Regions from separate parts of the Homo sapiens genome. Here region 2 is linked to region 1. The links are contacts of gene promoters, found by promoter capture Hi-C in blood cells and fetal thymus (Javierre and others, 2016). All regions are on one chromosome and are shown on one strand. The core of a region is centred on a gene start or on the middle of the fragment in contact, and the rest is flanking DNA. Distances in the headings are between cores, read along the strand shown. Region 1 holds the start of WIPI2 (WD repeat domain, phosphoinositide interacting 2). Region 2 overlaps RNF216 (ring finger protein 216).

The links. The method cuts DNA at HindIII sites, captures the fragments that hold promoters and counts their contacts. A CHiCAGO score of 5 or more calls a contact.
Region 2: a contact is called between a fragment that was not itself captured here and the fragment with the promoter of WIPI2 in region 1, in 2 of 17 cell types (erythroblasts and fetal thymus). The highest score is 7.6, in erythroblasts.

Annotation. Positions count from the first base shown.
Region 1 is chr7:5,188,092-5,195,060 of GRCh38, reverse strand. It overlaps WIPI2 (WD repeat domain, phosphoinositide interacting 2), which reads right to left and starts at 4,828. Exons shown (of 13, transcript NM_015610.4): 1 at 4,568-4,828; 2 at 1,890-1,943. The coding sequence starts at 4,641. RefSeq lists silencers at 4,334-4,383, 4,394-5,043. The HindIII fragment of the contact is 15,802 bases long and covers 1-6,969 here.
Region 2 is chr7:5,664,414-5,670,833 of GRCh38, reverse strand. The region is part of intron 13 of RNF216 (ring finger protein 216); the gene reads left to right. It overlaps RNF216-IT1 (RNF216 intronic transcript 1), which reads left to right. Exons shown (of 3, transcript NR_046834.1): 2 at 4,130-4,224. Among named protein-coding and RNA genes, the nearest start is that of RNF216-IT1, 13 kb to the left of the region's middle. The HindIII fragment of the contact is 1,754 bases long and covers 3,553-5,306 here.

The DNA.
Region 1 (6,969 bases), core at 3,579-6,078:
CCCCAGAGAGTAGGCCTGTCCTTCTCTAGGGAAGGACAGAGTCACTGCTTTTTAAACGCACTTGAACACATCCTCCTCATTTCACGGCCCCACAAGCCCGCCTCTGGAGCCCTGGCCTGCCCATTCCTGAGCCTGGAGGGGATTCTGCAGTTTAAACTAGGTTGGTTCTCTGCTTTCTTCACTAGCAATTTGAGATCCCACTTCCTTTACCACTCGCTAGCTTCCAAACTGGCTAATATCTCCTTTCTCATTCTTTCTATCGTATGAGTTTAAGCCTTTTAAAATATCTTTTTGAGGTCAAGGGTGGTGGCTTGCGTCTGCAATCTGAGCTACCCAGGCGGGAGGATCACTTGAAGCCAGGAGTTTGAGACCAGTTGGGGCAACAAAGTGAAACCCCATCTCTACAAAAATAAAAAATTAAGAAATGTTTAAAATTAGAAAATGTATATTTTTGACATTTTACTGATTAACATTTTATTAGGGTCTGGGGATGGAACCAAAATAAATGCTTATGTTTGATCCATCATTTTTAACTGAAAGTCTCCGTCAATGAATTTAAACTTGAACATTGAACATCAAAGAGACAGTGACTGCCACTCAAAAATGAAGATGTGAGTCAGATTTTTTGCTTATTTTCCTTTTCTCCCCCTTCCCTAATCGTCAGTCCGTAAAGACTCTCCTTCTTCATCATCTTTGCGGAGAAGCCATACTTGATTGCGTGCTTAGGCGGATAGAGCCCGACACTGTAAACCAAAAGCAACCTCAACTGTGGCTGCCAGCCCAGACCTGGGAGGCCCTGGTGCCCTCTCTTTCAGGGCTATGGACAGCCCACCCCCATCCCCGCTCCCCCTCACATCCTCCACCTCCATATCCCTGTGGCCTTTCCAACTCATCAGTATCCCCAAGCAGAGTTCTCTCCTTCTCGGCTTTTTCACCACGATGTTATCACATTCACCCAGAACCCAAGCCAGAAACTGGGCGTCACCTAAGTTCTCCCTTGGCTGCATGATGCACGTCCTGTGGGTCACACAAGTCCTGATGGCGAGACAGTCTCCTTCCCACTGGTCACTGCTGTTGGATGATATCCTCCTAAGTCACCCCCTGCCCTCCTCAAACATATCCTTTGCATAGCAGGCAGAATTACTTAAAACTTTAAGGGTGAAGGATCTTAGAAACCATCTTCAGGCCGGGCACAACGGCTCACACCTGTAATCCCAATGCTCTGGAGGCTGAGGCAGGAAGATCGCATGAGGCCAGGAGTTCAACACCAGCCTGGTCGACATAGCAAGACCCTGTGCCTACAAAAACTAAAAAAAAAATTAGCCAGGTGTGGGGCCTACGCCTGTAGTCCCGGTTTCTCGGGAGGCTGAGGCAGGAGGACCGCTTGAGCCCAGGAACTCAAAGTTGCAGTAAGCTATGATCATTATAACTATGCCACTGCACTTCAAACTGTGCAACAGTGAGACTCCATCTCAAAAACAAAAACCCAAACCCTTGATTTACAGATGAACAAAGAGAGGAGAGCAGTACCTTCCCAGCACAATAAGCATAACCTAGAAGAGACATGGTGGAAGAAAACAACAGGTTTCTCCTGTTGTCTCCACACACTTCATAACATCAATTCTACAAACACAAGACTTGGAAAGTCAAGTCCCTTTCTTCATTCCATCCCTTTTAGACATGGCATTTAAAACAGACATTGCTACATCACTAACTTCCCACAAGCTGTGGTATCCACTGGAAAAATGTAGTCCTTGATATTTCCATTTCAGATTCAAGTGATCCTCTCCCACTTATTAACTGGTTCACTGCAATTTCAAAAAGCCAAAAAAGTCCTCTAACATAAGCCTTCCAAGGTGATACTTTCAGAAACCAGGGTTGGAACTAACCAGACAACAGCGCGACGGCCAAGACCAGCTGCTCTTGATGCCCCTTTCACTTCTCTAGGTAAAAAAACAAAACAAAACAAAAAACAAATGGTAAAAAACAAATAAAACTTATGCACACTTTTAGGATAGGAATCATGAAAAAGTACGACATTGGAAATCATATTACCAGTAAAGAAAGGCAGGACAGTTATAGTTTGGTATGTAACAAATACAAAAAGAATTTAAAAGACAAAAAAAAGGGAAATGACCCTATAACATATATATTCTAGTAAGTGAACTGGCTTCCAAATTTTCTCACTGCATACAGTAAATGTGAGTTCTAGACGGTCATTCTTTCACTTGCTAAAAATTGTGCTCCTCAATAAATTCTGGAGATTAAGAAGGGAGGAAAAGGTATAAGCCATAAAAGCTCTCTCCGGGAACTTCTCTATTTCTTTCAAGTGTAGATTTAAAACAAATTACCGTCATTTTAGCCCAGTCAACTTCTAGTATAATCCTAGCTTACTATTCATTCCAATTTAGGTTTACACTACATCAAGGTCTCTCTGGCAAGTCAAAGTTATGAAATCTCAAAGTAACAGAAATCTCTTGAACTGTAATAACTTCGGGGAGCATGGAGAAGTGGGTAAGTGTGAAAATGTCCAAGTGTGAAAAGGTCCTATTTCAGGCCAGAGTGACACTCTTCTGTGACACAGGGAACATGGCAGTCCAGCTGAAGTAACAGTAAAAGAGAATGCTTTTCTCTATTTGATTTCATTCTGATAGAAATAATTAGTGAAAAACTGAAAGAGTGGCCGACAATGTTTTGGAAACTCTCTAATTTATACAAGGCATAAACCACCCTACTACTACTACCATTTCTTACTGGTCTCAAAATACTGTGGCCTTGGGCTTAAAAACCAAATTAGAATTGGTTTGGGATGTGTCCTTTTCCCTATCTGGATTAACATAGTCTATTCCACTTGAACTGCAACAGGTTGTCCGAATTGTTTGTTGTTCTGGCTTTTGGTCACACAGAACGCTACAGTACTTGGGAGTTTTCATCTTTACACGTTGTTATGCTATTATTTCTAAATTCACTGTCTTCAGAATTCTACTCTGTAAACAGAAAAAAAAACAGCATGGCAGAGCAGAAAGAACATTGGAAGAGAGCTCAGGAGGCGAGATTCCACTCCTGCCCCCGCTCCACTATTAACCAATTCCAAAACCCAGACCAGCTTGGAGCCTTTCGGAAGGATTTCCTCATCTGTAGTTGGATGAGGTGATTTGCCCCTTCCGACTCTCAATACAGTCCCACTGTGCGACTGTCTTCACAGCTTTGGGGAGGTGCTATTGAGTGCCTGCTGTACACCACCCACTGAGTGTTGTCCATTCTACAATTCACTTTTAATTTCCTAAAGAATCTTACCTTCTGCTATGTTAATTCCACTCAGCCAGTAACAACTCAACCAATGACTTAGTAAGATGCCAAATGCCCCACTCCTTCTCTTTCCTCACTTCCTCTTACTCACTTCCAAGATGGCTCTCCTCCCTGCCAACCCCATAACTCACCCTTCTCTCTCCAGAAAGCTCGCTCATCTATTAACCATCCCCACAAGTCCTCCTCCCAGGCAGCATCCAACCCGTATCAGTGGGGACAAACAGCGTTCCGAATGCACGGGCTGGCATTAAGGCCTTCTCTTGCCCTGAGGATGACCCACCCGCTGGAGCTCTGAGACTCCTGGGGCACTGGTCCGTAACGCCTCTCTTGGCTCAGTTTCTCCCTAGCTAGGTCAGATGCCAAGGTTATTGCTAAGTTTGTTACTTGCTGGAGAAGACATCAAAGTTGATGTCCCAAAAAGAACAGGGAGGGCCGCGCACGGTGGCTCACACCTGTAATCCCAGCACTTTGGGAGGCTGAGGTGGGCGGATCACTTGAGGTCAGGAATTTGAGACCAGCCTGACCAACATGGTGAAACCCTGTCTCTACTACAAATACAAAAAAGTTAGCTGGGCACAGTGGCGCGTGCCTGTAGTCTCAGCTACTCGGGAGGCTGAGGCAGGAGAATCGCTTGAACCCAGGAGGCGGAGGTTGCAGTGAGCTGAGATGGCACCACTGCACTCCAGCCTGGGCAACAGAGCAAGACTCTGTCTCAAAACAAAACAAACCCCAAAAAACAAAAACAAACAAAAAAACAGTGAGAAACGAAGAAAAGAAAATCAAGAGAGAGAGAAGGGTCTTAAGACGATGAAAAGACAAGGAGAAGGGCCTGATTCAAAGGAGAGTGAGTGGGAGACGCTGAGCAAGCAGCGGGAAGAGGAGACGAGAGGAGAGGAAGCGACCCACACCCAGCGCTCCACAGGCGGCCAAGACAAGTCAAGCCCCAAAGTTCGGCCCCAACTTTGCGAGAAGTAGTTAAGTCTGAAGCCAGGGGGCCTCCCCGCAAGAGGGTGAAAGCAGCCCCCTCTCCACCACCTCTCCCGCTCCGGGACCGCAGCTCCAGGCCAGCACCCGAGGGTCTCCCTGGAGGGCGCCCCTCCCTGCACGCCCCGGGCCCGCCCCTGGGGACGCCTCTGCGCGCCTTGGCCCGCGGGGAGGCCGAGCCTGCGACGCCGCCGAGCTTGGCAGCGAGGCCCTCCCCCTAGCCCGGGTCCGACCCTGGCCTCACCCCGACTCCGACCCCCGACCCCGGCCTTACGTGTTGTCCTGGTTGAAGTTGGCGAAGAGCAGCTGGCCGGCGCCGGCCTCCCCGCTCTGGCTCGCCAGGTTCATGGCTGGGCGCGCGGCGAGTGGGCCCGGCCGGGGAGGGCGCGCGCGCGAGGGCGGGTCAGGCTGCACTCAGGGTCGGCGCCGGGCCCCGCTCGCCGCCTCGGTCGCCGCCACTCGCCACCCTGGGATCAACCGCCGCCTCATCCCGTCCCCGCTCTTGTTTATGCTCCAGAGCCGGGGCACCCGGTACGCCTGCGCGGCCCCGCCCCCGCGACGCACGGCCTCGAGCGGCGCAGTCGCACTGCGGAGGCCCCGCCCTCTCACCGCCTGCCTGGGCTTGGGTTCCGGTGGATCACGCAGGCGTGGGGACGCGTCGGGGCGCGCTGGGCCTGGCTGAGGGCGAGCGGCGGCCGCTCATGCGCATGGGGCAGAGCTGGCGGGAGTCTGTTTTCTGCGTACCCTCCTCTTAATAACACTCAATGGCCAGGCACGGTGGCCTGTAATCCCAGCATTTTGGGAGGCCAAGGCGGGCGGATCACCTAAGATCAGAAGTTCGAGACCAGCCTGGCCAACATGGTGAAACCCCGTCTCTACTAAAAATACAAGAAAAATTAGCCGGGCTTGGTGGTGTACGCCTGTAATCCCAGCTACTCGGGAGGCTGAGGCAAGATAATCGCTTGAACCCAGGAGGCGGAGATTGCAGTGAGCCGAGATCATGCCACTGCAATCCATCCAGCCTGGGCCATAGAGCGAGACTCTGTCTCAAACAACAACAAAAACAAAAACAAAAACACCCCAATGGGCCCTCCATGTGCCAATCACTGTGCTGAATGCTTCTGCGCATTACCTTATCATTTTATTATTTTGAAAGACAAGGTCTCGCTCTGTTGCCTAGGCTGGAGTGCAGAGGCTCAATCACAGCTCACTGCAGCCTCAAACTCAGGCTCAAGCGATCCTCCCACCTTAGCCTCCCAAGTAGCTGGGACCACAAATGCATGCCACCACACCCTGCTAACTTTTAAGTTTTTTGTAGAGATGGGGTGGGGGCGGGGGGGGTCTTACTCTGTTGCCTAGGCTGGTCTCGCACTCCTGGCCTCAAGTGATGCTCCCACCTCGGCCTCCCAAAGTACTGGGATTACAGATGTGAGCCACTGTGCCCAGCCACATTATCTTATTTGATGCCCATTACAATCCTAAGTAGAGAATAGTATATCTTAATTTTACAGATTTGAAAATCGAGGCTCAGAAATAATTATTAGCCAAGTGCTAGATCTGAGACTGGAAACGTCCTGTTTCTCCAAGGTCCATACTGTCTGGGTTCCTGGGACAGAATCGTCCCTTAAATTTATTCATTCATTCAACAGTATTTAGGACGCACCTCTCATGTGAACTAAATAGGCCTCCTCCTTTCCCTCAGAGAAGTTATAATGGGGAGATATTTAAATATAAATAGAAGGCCAGGTGTGGTGGCTCTTACCTGTAATCCCAGCACTTTGGGAGGCTGAGGCGGGTGGATCACCTGAGGTCGGGAGTTCCAGACCAGCCTGGCTAACATGGTGAAACCCCGTCTCTACTAAAAGTACAAAAGTTAGCTGGGTATGGTGGTGGGCACCTGTAATCTCAGCTACTAGGGAGGCTGAGGTGGGAGAATTGCTTGAGCCCCACAGGTGGAGGTTGCAGTGAGCCGAGATTGCACCTCTGCACTCCAGCCTGGACGGACGACAGAGTGAGACTCCATCTAAAAAGTAAAATAAAATAGGCTGGGCATGGTGACTCACGCCTGTAACCCCAGCACTTTGGGAGGCTGAGGCAGGTGGATCACCTGAGGTCATGAGTTTGAGACTAGCCTGCCCAACATGGTGAAACCCTGTCTCTAGGAAAAATGTAAAATATTAGCCAGTTGTGGTGGCACGGCCCTGTAATCCCAGCTACTCAGGAGACTGAGATGGGAGAATTGCTTGAACCCAGGAGGTGAAGGCTGCAGTGAGCCGAGATCATGCCACTGCACTCCAGCCTGGGCGACACAGTGAGACTCCATCTCAAAAAATAAAATAAATAAATATAATTAGAAACTCGGGGGTACAATGAGCGAATATATATATATATATATATATATATATATTTTTTTTTTTTTTTTTTTTTTTTTTGAGACGGAATTTCACCTTCTTGACCAGGCTGGAGTGCGATGGCGCAATCTCGGCTCACTGCAACGTCCACCTTCCGGGTTCAAGTGATTCTCCTGCCTCAGCCTCCCGAGTAGCTGGGATTACAGGTGTGCACCATCACGCCCAGTTAATTTTTGTATGTTTAGTGGAGACGGGATTTCTCCATGTTGGTCACGCTGGTCTCGAACTTCCGACCTCAGGTAATCTGCCTGCCTCGGCCTCCCAA
Region 2 (6,420 bases), core at 3,180-5,679, 480 kb before region 1:
TACAAGTTCCTCCCGGGTAGGCCACATAACTGGAACTGAGAATTTGGGCTATGGATTAAGGCTGAAAACACAACTCAACAAAGATGAGAGGGAAGTCACATTTCAACATACTGTGTTACGAGACCCAGTTACACCACCTTAGCTGTACTTTTGCTTCCAAAGGTCACCTTAGGTTGTCGGACATGAAGAAACTAATGAAGCAGTAGGGGTGGAGATTAAGCATGCTTTGGGGTCAGAATGGTGAGGGGCATACCATTAATTTCTTGCTCATAAACATTTCTGTGAAATGATGGAATCTCCTAAGGTTTGTTTCATACATGATTAACTGTACCAAAAATTTAAATCCAAGAATAAGCAAAAAGAGGAAGTAAAAGACTTTTTTTACCCAACCACCAGTTCAGCACTCTCCTCTAGTTCTGGGTGTCTCCTTTTGGCAGCCCCTCTATGCACATCAGAGGAGCCCACTATCACATGGCTGGGTCCTCTGCAGTCGGGCAGCAGCACTGTGGTCAGGCATGTGTCATCTCAGGGGAGCAGTGCATGTGCAGGAAATGGATCCTGAAAGTCTCACATCCAGGTTGTTTATGAAAGTGATTTCCAGGGCAGGCACGGTAGCTCACGCCTGTAATTCCAGCACTTTGGGAGGCCGAGGCGGGTGCCTCACTTGAGGTCAGGAGTTTGAGACCAGCCTGGCCAACATGGTGAAGCCCCGTCTCTACTAAAAATAAATAAATAAATAAATAGCTGGGCATGGTGGTGCGTGCCTGTAATCCCAGCTAATCGGGAGGCTGAGACAGGAGAATTGCTCGAACTTGGGAGGCAGAGGTTGCAGTGAGCCAAGATCGCGCCACTGCACTCCAGCATGGGTGGCAGAGCGAGACTCCATCTCAAAAAAAAAAAAAGGATTTCCAAACGCACCATCCACAATCTCACTTACTTTCTTTTTTTTTGAGATGGAGTCTTGCCCAGGCTGGAGTGCAGTGGTGCGATCTCAGCTCGATGTTATCTCCACCTCCCAGATTCTAGCAATTCTCCTACCTCGGCCTCCCGAGTAGCTTGGATCACAAGTGCACAACACCATGTCGGACTAATTTTTGTATTTTTAGTAGATGGGGTTTTGCCATGTTGGCCAGGCTGGTCTCAAAACTCCTGACCTCAAGTGATCCGCCCACCTTGGCCTCCCAAAGTGCTGGGATTACAGGCGTGAACCACTGCACCTGGCCAACACAGTCTCAGTTTCAACAGTGATATCTGGCAGATTTGATACAAAGTTTAGGTCTTGATTTAGAAGCATGAACAGACCCCTCACCTCACTCTCTAGCATCTTTTGGTCTCTTACTGCTAAATCTGTCAATATAATCTTTCACTTGAGGCAAGATGGAGTGATGATTTCATAAGCATTGAGTAAACTCTGCCAGTCTTTTCAGCCACACTGAAAAGAATGGATAATGAGTGTGTCAGCCTCCCTGTGATTGCCAGTGGCAAAGATTGGTCTTCTAAAGATCTCATCATTTCTTTTCTAAATAGAGGTATCAGAGGATCAGCAAAACCAAGACCTGGATCAAAAGAGGTCAGAGCTTCTCAACTTTACTATGTGTCGGAATCAGAGATCTTGTCAGATGCAACTCTGCTTAGTAGGTATAGCTGGAGCCCGACCGCCCATATTCCTCTCAGGCTGGCAGGTGCAGACAGTCCTGCCCATCCTGCATAGCACGGGACTGGGTGGGATAGTTTCCACCAAGGGGGGCCATCTGTAGCCACCTGCCTGCGTTGAAATACTCTCTAATGCTCTTTATAATATTAGGTCCACAGAACTAAAAATCACTTATGCTCCTGCTCATATTCCTGGGGGAGATGACTAGATTTCGGCTGGATAAGAGCCCTGTGGGGATGAGTGAAGGTGTGAAAGTAGTCACATCTAGAGGCATCAGGTGGATAGTATGCTAACTAGATAGTGTTTTACTATTTCCCGTAGTAAAGATATGGGGAAGATACACCGTGACTAGAACGCCCAAATCTTGTGAACCAGGAGAATGAAGGGCATGAAGCCCTGGAAGGGCAGGCAACAGCAGACCCCGGCTACTTCCTAACAGCGTTCTTCCTCGGGACTGGGATCTCTGGCCCTGCTTCTGAGCCCTCCACTCTGGGTGTCTCCCACCTATACTTTTTATCATTCTTCTGTGTCGAGTTGACCCTTTTTTCCTCCCTCCTTTGACCCTCATCCTCAGTTCATATCTCCTGTCCCCATGAGAGGCTTCCCTTTTTGTCACATTTCACTAGCAAGGAGGGAAAGATTAAAAGTCCGCTTTGTGGCCTGGCACGGTGGCTCACATCTGTAATCCCAGCACTTTGGGAGGCCGAGGCGGGCAGATCACGAGGTCAGGAAATCAAGACCATCCTGGCTAACACGGTGAAACCCCGTCTCTACTAAAAATACAAAACATTAGCCGGGCGTGGTGGTGGGTGCCTATAGTCCCAACTACTCGGGAGGCTGAGGCAGGAGAATGGTGTGAACCTGGGAGGCGGAGCTTGCAGTGAGCCAAGATTGCGCCACTGCACTCCAGCCGGGGCCAACGGAGCGAGACTCCATCTCAAAAAAAAAAAAAAAAGTCCGCTTTGCTATTTACTCTGAGAAGGGATTTGATTTTTATGAGAATGTGAAAAACTACCAGGGGCAGCCGCTTTTCTATGCCTGCTATATAAACAGTACCTTGCAAGATGTCCTGTCTGATATCCACAAAGGGGTATTGTCAACCCCAAGTTCAGACAGCTTTGTATTCTTCTGTCCCTGGATACATGAATTACTGCCATCTTTACACAGCGCCCTAAAATACCAACGCGAAGTTACCTGCTCAGCTTGAAGCTGCGCTGTACCCTGGAACCAGCACTTCTGCTGAATGACTCAGGATGAAGCCTCGACTTCCTCCTTCCCATCCCATGCCCAGACCCCAGTGGCTCCTTTCCCCAATCTGATCCAGTGACTTTAAGTCCAGCTGTTGTCAGCCTGGGCATGAGGAGGAGTGTCAAGATGGTCTTTGTCCTACCTGGAAGGAGGCTTCCTGGAATCTGCAGCCTCTCTTCCAGGGCATGCTGACAGTGGAGTTCCAGCAGGCAGGAGCTGGTTTTGCTGGCTGTTCCTGCCAGGCCAAGATTCCCAGCAAAACCCTGGGAAGCCCAGAGGTAGCCCAAGCAGTGAGCAAAGACAAGGTCAGCCTGGCTTGTTTCTGCCCAAGTGATAACAGTGTTTCTATTTGACAGTTTGAAATGATTAGATCTGCTTCCTATGCATGGCCCTGCTCCTGCAGGATGGAGAAGGCTGGGGGGTTCCCCTGGTTCCCGGGCATTGTTCCTTATCAGCAGAGTCACCTCCAGGGTAACTAGAGATGGGGCTGGTTTTCAGTTCCTGGCAGTGATCCTTGGGACTTCCTATTGTGAGAATGAGCCTTTTGGTGCCTTTTTAAAGAAACTTTAATTCTGAATGAATTCTAAATTAATGGCTTTTAAACTTTTTTGTTTGTGACCTATAGTAAGAAATATAAATTACCATAAGCTTCATCCAAACATAAATAAATATAGGTGGAACAGAAACAGTTTTATAAAACAAATACTTGACACATGGAATGTGCCCTAGTATTTTTGTTCTAACTTTAAATCCACTAGTCATAATCTACTGAAGTGACTTTACAACCCACCATAGGGCCACAGTTTATAGTTTAAAAGTCATGGCTGGCCAGGCACAGTGCCTCACAACTGTAATCCCAGCATATGGGAGGCCGAGGCGGGTGCATCCTTTGAGCCCAGGAGTTTGAGACCAGTCTGAGCAACATAGCAAGACCTGGTCTGTACAAAAAATTAGCCAGGTATGGTGGCATGTGCCTGTGGTCACAGCTACTCTGGGCACTGAGGGGGCAGGATCACTTGAGCCCAGGCTTGAGCCCAGTGAGCTATGATGGCACCACTGACTGCACCCCAGCCTGGGTGACAGAATGAGACCCTGTCTCAAAAAAAAAAAAAAAAAAGTCATTGCTGTAGTAACTTCGGTTCCACAACCTGTATTGTATGGAGCATCTATGGGGAGCAAATCCTTTGGAAGGGGCTTAGTCACAGCCTCCCCTCCTGCCCTTTCCAGGCTGTGAGAAGCTCGGCAGGAAGGCGGGAGAGGCCCCACCTTCAGAGGCGCAGCTCAGAAGGCTTGAGAGCTCCCCGTGAAAGGGATCCCTGCAGGTGGGGTTCTTTGGGAATCAACCTCATGCACAGCCATTGCAGAGGCTCTTCTTCAGCATCTGTTTACTCTGGGCTCAGGCCCCAGGCAGCCTGCAAACCCAACCCTCCTCTCCACCTTACAGCTCTGCCCACCCTGCTCCTCCCTGTTCCTGGTGCCTGGAATTCTTTCCCCCAGATAGCACCAGACTCTCTCCCTCGCCTTTCTTAAGTCTTCACTTACATGCACCTTCGCAGAGAGGCCTTCCCTGACCACCAGTTTATAATCGTGAACTATTTCCCCCTCTCCACCCCAGTGCATTCTTCCTTTATTTTTTTCTCCTCAGCACTTACAATCATGTCTTAACTGTATATTACACTTAATGTGTGTCCCCACTGCAGAGCAGGACCCATAGTCCTTAGTAGGAGCTCACATACTGGTTTCGGATTTTTTTTTTTTTTTTTTTTGAGACGGAGTCTCACTCTGTCGCCCAGGCTGGAGTGCAGTGGCGTGATCTCCACTCACTGCAAGCTCTGCCTCCCAGGTTCACGCCATTCTCCTGCCTCAGCCTCCCGAGTAGCTGGGACTACAGGCGCCCGCCACCACGCCCGGCTAATTTTTTTGTATTTTTAGTAGAAACGGGGTTTCACCGTGTTAGCCAGGATCGTCTCGATCTCCTGACCTCGGGATCCGCCTGTCTCGGCCTCCCAAAGTGCTGGGATTACAGATGTGAGCTACCGCGCCCGGCCTTGGTCTTGGAATTTTTATATAAATGTCCACATGATGCCATTGCCTAGGCGTTGCTGATATAGTCTCGGTGATTCTGTTAAACAGCCATTCGAGAGAAACAGTCGTCTGTATTTGAGTAACTAAGGGAATTGGTAGTTTTGTTTGTAGTTACTATGATAAAGATAAAATTGAACTTTGATTTATTCCAGAAAGACTTTACCCTCCCACTCTGTCCTCGAAGCCCTGGTCCCCATAGTATAGTAAAAAGCCGGCAGCTATGTGTGGTCTCTCCCAGAGCAGTCAAGCTGGTGTCTCGGTGCCTTGTAACTTTCCATCCCTAGGGGGCAGCATTAGCACAGAAACCACATATAAAGCTTCTATTCCAATTTGTCACCTAATCCTGGTGGCTCAGGGAAAGAACTTTTCTAATCCACAGAAATAACACTTCAAGATTTCTTTTTTCAAAGCCTGGTTCTGTACATAGAAATGGTAGGTGAGGTGTGTATGAAAACAAAAAATATTTAAGAACAACATGAAATCTTCCCCAAAGAAGCCCTTTCCTCAGGACTAGGGAGTGAGGTGGGGGAGGCTTTGTAATGGTTCCCAGAGCTCTCACTTGGCCACTCCCAGATTTGAATTTCTGCATTTGGAAATGTAAAGGTTCTCCTTCCTTTGAGAGATGATTTACTGTACTTTGAGGATAGAGAGGAATCCCCTGCATGGTGAGCTTGGCTTCTTAGATGTGACATAATCAGATCATTACAAGACACTGTTAGAAGAATTCATGTTAGAATTTTGTGTGTCCTGGCTGGGTGCGGTGGTTCGTGCCTGTAATCGCAGCACTTTGGGAGGCCGAGGCGGGCAGATCACCTGAGGTCAGGAGTTCAAGACCAGCCTGGCCAACGTGGTGAAACCCAGTCTCTCCTAAAAAATACAAAAATTAGCCAGGCCTGGTGGCGGGCGCCTGTAATCCCAGCTACTTGGGAGGCTGTGGCAGGAAGAATTGCTTGAACCTGGGAGGTGGAGGTTGCGGTGAGCCAAGATTGTGCCATTGCACTCCAGCCTGGGCAACAAGAGCAAAACTTCATCTCAAGAAAAAAGAAAAAAAAGAATTTTGTGTGTCCTTTAAGAACTGGACCCAGGCAGTTTGGATTATCTTGTTTCTGGGAGTGCAGAGGAGAATGCTGGCCAGTGGGGGAAGCGTGCAGCCTACCCTTGGGCGGCAACTGGCCTTCCACAGCCCCTGGGGGTGTTGGGGAGAGCCAGGCTGGGACACAGGCAGAATGCGCATTTCCAGTCCTGACCCCTCTAAACCAGAAGTTCTCTTGGGCACACATTTTCAGGGTCTACTGTTTGTGAGCTCCTTTTATCCTGATTGAAGAGAGATCAACTTCCATGTCTTGAAACTACAGGAGAAAATCAACAAAGAACATCCTAATTGAAACATATGCAGTACTTTCTCACACCATCTGCAAGCATTTGGTCATTAG